Regions from separate parts of the Homo sapiens genome. Here region 2 is linked to region 1. The links are contacts of gene promoters, found by promoter capture Hi-C in blood cells and fetal thymus (Javierre and others, 2016). All regions are on one chromosome and are shown on one strand. The core of a region is centred on a gene start or on the middle of the fragment in contact, and the rest is flanking DNA. Distances in the headings are between cores, read along the strand shown. Region 1 holds the start of SYT6 (synaptotagmin 6). Region 2 has its middle 32 kb from the start of OLFML3.

The links. The method cuts DNA at HindIII sites, captures the fragments that hold promoters and counts their contacts. A CHiCAGO score of 5 or more calls a contact.
Region 2: a fragment that was not itself captured here is called in contact with the fragment with the promoter of SYT6 in region 1 in 2 of 17 cell types (M2 macrophages and M1 macrophages); the score reaches 6.2 in M2 macrophages.

Annotation. Positions count from the first base shown.
Region 1 is chr1:114,152,619-114,155,318 of GRCh38, forward strand. SYT6 (synaptotagmin 6) reads right to left here and starts at 1,251. Exons shown (of 8, transcript NM_001253772.2): 1 at 992-1,251. The coding sequence starts at 1,154. RefSeq lists an enhancer at 2,426-2,700. The HindIII fragment of the contact is 4,368 bases long and covers 1-2,297 here.
Region 2 is chr1:114,010,206-114,012,905 of GRCh38, forward strand. No RefSeq gene overlaps it. Among named protein-coding and RNA genes, the nearest start is that of OLFML3, 32 kb to the left of the region's middle. The HindIII fragment of the contact is 2,795 bases long and covers 1-2,667 here.

The sequences.
Region 1 (2,700 bases), core at 1-2,500:
ATACCCTGGGCCGGCCGCCACGTCGCCGACCCTCCCGCAGCTCCCGCCGCCAGGGCGCGACACGCCATTCCCCCTGCCGCGACTCCCCGGAGACGCCGCAGCTGCGCGCCAGGGTCCAGCCCGGCGGGGATCGGGCTCGGGACTCACCCGCTCCGGCGAGCTCGACTCAGCTCGGGCTCCCGCCTCGGCTAGGCAGCCGCCTGGGGCTGCGTCCCGCGCAGGGTCAGCGCGGATCGGGCAGGAGGCGCCCTCTTGGCAAAGTCGGCTAGAGGCGCCAGCTCAGTCGCGCACCGGCCCCGAGTCCGAGTCCGAGAGGGACGGAGGGAGCGAGTTATAGGGGCGAGAGGGGGTGGGGGAAGGACGCCGCAACACCCTCATACCCTCCCCCACCCCGCCCCCTGTCCCCCGCCCCCCAGCGGAGACGCGGAAAACCACTCGCAGCCGGAGAGACACCCGGACACAAAGACCTCGTGCCAGCCGCAGACCCAAGTTTCTCCCGGAGAGACTGGGGGTCCGCCCGCGTTCACCGCGAGAACACACAAACGGACGGACAGACCGACGCACGGACCCGGGGACCTCGACACTCGCTAGGAGGCAAGCCCTATTCCTCAGCCGGGCGCCCCTCGTCTCCCGCTCTCTCCATGGACCCCTCTCCTGGCAAATCGCCCGCAGAGCGAGCTTGGAGATGCGAGGGAAACTGAAGCCCCAAGGGTGCCCCGTCCTGGGAGCCTGGCTGTCTGCGGGGTCCCCCGCATTCCGCAGTAGTAATACAGGAGGGCCGGGGGCTTCTACCCCAACCTCCGCTCCCCTTCGGGTCTCTCCTGGCTGTGCAAGCGATGGGCCAGAGGGCTGGACGAGGCTGGCTCCCAATCCAGAATCCCGAGCTGGGGAGTTCTCTCTAGGTTCTGGGGCTCCTGGGACCGGGGCTTTGGGGAAGGGAGATCGCAGGACGGATATCCAGGAAGGGAGGGGGCCCTGGGTCTCCCGTTACCTGCGCCTGCCGCGCTGGGACTCCGCTCTGGGGGCTGCAGCTCGAAGCTCCGACAAGTCTCCACGTCCAGCCCGAGAGGGGGCGGCCGGGCCCGGCACAGCGAGGCGAGGACCGCGAGCGCCTCCTGGCACCGAGGCCCGCCGGCCCCCCACACTCCGCTCATGCCCTAGACACCCAGGCTTGCCGAGCAGCAGCTCGAACCCGCGCCCCGGCCGCACTGGGGCGGGGCACGACGGCCCCAAGAAGACCCTCCCTGCAGCGGCCCCCTGCGGCTCCGCTCTGCTTTTAATCACTTCCCCGCAGGGTCCCCGCCCCTCACGTGGCATCCCGCGGCAGCTGGCGAGTCTGGCGCCTCGCGGCCGCCCCCTCTACACTCAGGGACTGGCCTGAGTCCGGGGGGTGGGGGTTTCGAGGCGGGAAGCCGGGCTGTCCCGAATCTCGGAGGGTGCAAGGCCAGGAAAGAGTCCGGGTTCCCACTCCGCATTCACTGCCTGGTGTGACCTTGGGCGTCTCTGAGCCTCAATTTTCCTCTCCGTAAAGGAGGTGTAATGATTTTAAGTACTTCACGGACTCCCTGGGGATAGAAAGATCGTGTTTGTGAAAACACTGGGTAAACTGCCACATGCCACACGAATGACAGAGAAATAGATAACCCCGTAACAGAAAGAGCGACGGTCAGGCAGGGTCTGGGAGGACCTTGGCCGAGGTTCCTGACGGGAGCAGTTAGACTGGCCCCCGAGTCCCAGCTTCGGAGGTAGAAGACCCCAAGACAGGCGGGCGATGCGAACTGCAAGACTTTCCGAGCTCCGCAATCCTGCGGTCCGCGGTACCCGCATGTTGCTATGGCGACGGGAGGCAGCGGCCGTCTCTCTCCATGGCAACGGGAGGGAAAAGTTTCTGGCAAACAGGAATGGGGGGTCATTTCAAGAGGGCGCAGGGCGCTCAGTTCCGCCGACCCACCTCCTTGCTTCGGTGAAACAGCACCAGAGATCATGTATCTTTCTGCTAAGCATAACAAGAAAGACAGAAAGCTCAACGGGAGGATTGAGGCTAGACTTAAAGTAGAGATCCCCTCAGAAACTGTGGAGTGAGGCCCAGGAACAGATCGGCTGAGAGGCTTCGAGCTGCCTCACTCAGCGCTGGAAGTCTGTGAGCCATGGTCAGGGAGGCCGGGGGACCAGCGCCCTGCAGGGGCCTATCTCGGGAGTCTCTTGATCTACACCTGTCGGCGGTGGGGCCCCTTCTGTGTGGGGCTCGCCTGAAGCCCCAGACTCAGGTCCATTTGCTCTCCCGGAGCTGGGAAGGAAGCTTTAGCTGCAGCCCCTGGAGGCTGCTGGGTTGGTGTATGCCCGAGTGGCTGGCGAGGGAGAAAGGTCTTGCCTCTTAATTAACACGCTTATTGGAAGTGACTCGGGCAGTGACTCACGTTCCGGAGGGAGGAGATTCGGAGCCTTAGCTCCTGGCGGTCTCCACTGCGCGCCATCTGTGCCAACCGGCCCTTGGACTTGCGATCCCCTAGCAGCTGGTGCCTGGGGCACCAAGGGCTAAGGCAAGGCCTGTGAGGACCCTGGCCCAGCCAGGCGGCTTTTCCACCGTGAGGCGCCCCCTGGCTCTGTCCACGGTGCTGAAGACCCAGTTGGTGCTACCATCGCGTGGGCATAAGTTTAGGGGACGAGGGAGAGGCAATTGTTGAAGGTTCGCAGCTTCCA
Region 2 (2,700 bases), core at 20-2,519, 140 kb before region 1:
TAAGCTAAGGGTAATTTATTATTGAAGAAAGAAAATTTTAAAATAAATTTGGCATAGCCTAAGTGTACAGTGTTTCTAATCCTTGTAGGGTACAGTAATGTCCTAGGTCTTCACATTCTCTCACTGCTCACACACTGACCCAGAGCAACTTCCAGTCCTGCAAGCTCCAGTCATGGTAAGGGCCCTATGCAGGTGTACAGTTTTTATCTTTTATACCATACCTTCACTTTACAGTTTCTACATTTAGATATGTTTAGATCCCCGAATACTATAGCGTTACAATTGCCTGCAGCACTCGGTATGGCAACATGCAGTACAGGTTTGTAGCCTAGGTATGTGGTAGGCTGCACCATCTAGGTTTCTGTAAGTACACTCTGTGATGTGTGCACAATGACATAATCCTTTTTTATCTTTATGACCCCCTTGTCAACCCTCGAATCCCCTTTTGAATGAGGAGGAGCATAAGTACATGAGTTTTAGAGAAGGTAGTCAAAAGCTGGCATATCAAGGAATTGAACACAAGGCAAAACTCTTGAGAAGGAGCCAAGAATCAGAAGTCAGCAATGAAAGAAAAATCCCACAAACCAAAGGGGCAAGGGTGAGTTAAAAATGTAGAGGTGGATCCAGAGCTGGAACCAGGGGAAAGTTAGAACAGGTTTAGACTCTAGGGAAGCCAGCACTTTCCCCATAAGCTGGCGGGGCTTCTCAGCTTGCTTCGTGGTTCAGTGGAGGCATTGGGTTCTGAGGGGTGTTGAAGCCACTCACGTCCTACCATAGGCTGGACTCCTTTTTCCTCTCCCCACCCTTGCCGGCTCTGGGCACCGCCTCCTGCTTCTCAGGGCACCTCACTGCTCTTGTCATTAATGGAGATAGTTAGGGAGAGAGGAAATGAGGTAAAGAATGAAGTGAAATTAGCTTTACAGTAATCTCATTAACAGATGTCAGTCTCATTTTATAGGGAGCATAGAGCTACATATGGAATATTATTCTAAGAAAGCTGGACAATTCATTGCACCGAGGGGAGGAGGTGTCCCTTCTTCAGTCCATGTGAATTCCTTCAGTTATGCACTTCCCTCCATCCTCATATCTCTCTTTTGCTATGACTTCCTTCCATCAAATTTCCCTTCTCTTCTACATCTTCAATCTCTTCCTCTCTCCTAAATCCTTTCCTCCATATCTACTCAAGTTGTTCTCATCCTTTAACAATTTCTTCCTTGATTTCTCTAGTTCTGTCTTCCTTCCTTTTACAGACAGCTCTCCTGAAAGTTCTCTGCACCTACAGCTTCCCCTTTCTCTGTTTCTCACTCCACAGTGGTGTGGGTACTCTCACTCTGTCACTCATACTGGAGTGCAGTGGTATGATCTTGGCTCACTGCTGCCTTGAACCCTTGGGCTCAAGCGAGCCTCCTGAGTAGCTGGGACTGCAGGTGTGCACCACCACACCTGGCTAATTAAAAAAAAAAAAAAAAAAAATATATATATATATATATATACACACACACACACATACATATTGCAGAGATAGAATCTTGTTATGGTTCCTAGGCTGGTCTCAAACTCCTGACCTCAAGCAATCCTTCTGCCTTGGCCTCCCACAGCCCTGGGATTACAGGTATGAGCCACCACACTGGTCTCACTTATTCTTAATTTCATCTCTTCTGGTCTTTTCTTTCTTTTTTTTCTGCAGGTTACAATTCCTTTGCTTGTCCCTTAAATGCATGGTTCATTCTTGACCCTCTTCTCTTTTCATCCTCTAAATGTTTCCAGATGTATCATCTCTTCCTGTGGCTTTGTATGGCAGTGCTGCCAAATATAGATATTTCTGACCAGAGCCCTCTACTGAGTTGTGTTTGTGTGCACAACTACCTTCTGCACTTCTGACCCTTTACCCAAGGCTGTCCCTCCTCCTGGATGTCATTTTCTGGAGAATGGCATGGTCAGCTACTTTGATTTCTGAATCAGGAACCTGGACATTATCTCTGACCCTCTCTTACCCCTTCTCTACTCCATGTCCAGTCAGACACCAGTCAACATAACCCTGGACTCTGCTTCTTACCATCTCACAGCCTCAGTCCCTTCTCTCCATCCCCACAGCCACTGCCTTAGTTCAGGCCTCCAGTGTTCATGCAACCTCCTGAATGGCCTCCCCCACACCAAGATTCTCTCCATTAACCCATCTCCACATTGTGGCCATGGTGGCTATTAAAGACATATATCTGGGTGTGATGTTCTCCCAGGGAAAAACCACATTGGCTTCCGTGCAATTAGGGAATCTCTGAAGTCCCTGTCTTGGTCTTGAAGGCCTTTCAGAGTGGGCTGCATCTCTGGCCTCAGCCTCCCCAGGTCTCTGCTGTGGGCCAGTCCATGCTAGCCTGTACGGAGCTGCTTGCTGCTTTACGTGTCAGTGCTGTTGAACTTGCTGTTTCCTATACCTAAAATACATCCCTACCTTCTTCACCAGATTGACCCATACACATACTTCAGCACAGCTCAAGCATCCTTCTTCCAGCCTTCGCTGACACAGCCTCCTCCCTCTCCCCCAGGCTGGGTGAGGGACTTTTCCTCTGCGTTCCTTTGTCCTCATCTCTGTCAGACACTATCATACCATACTGTGAGCATTTGTTTTCTTGTCAGTAAATAAAGGCAGGACTTTTTGGGGCGGGGGGAAGCTTATAATACTGGTACTCTGCACAGTTTGGC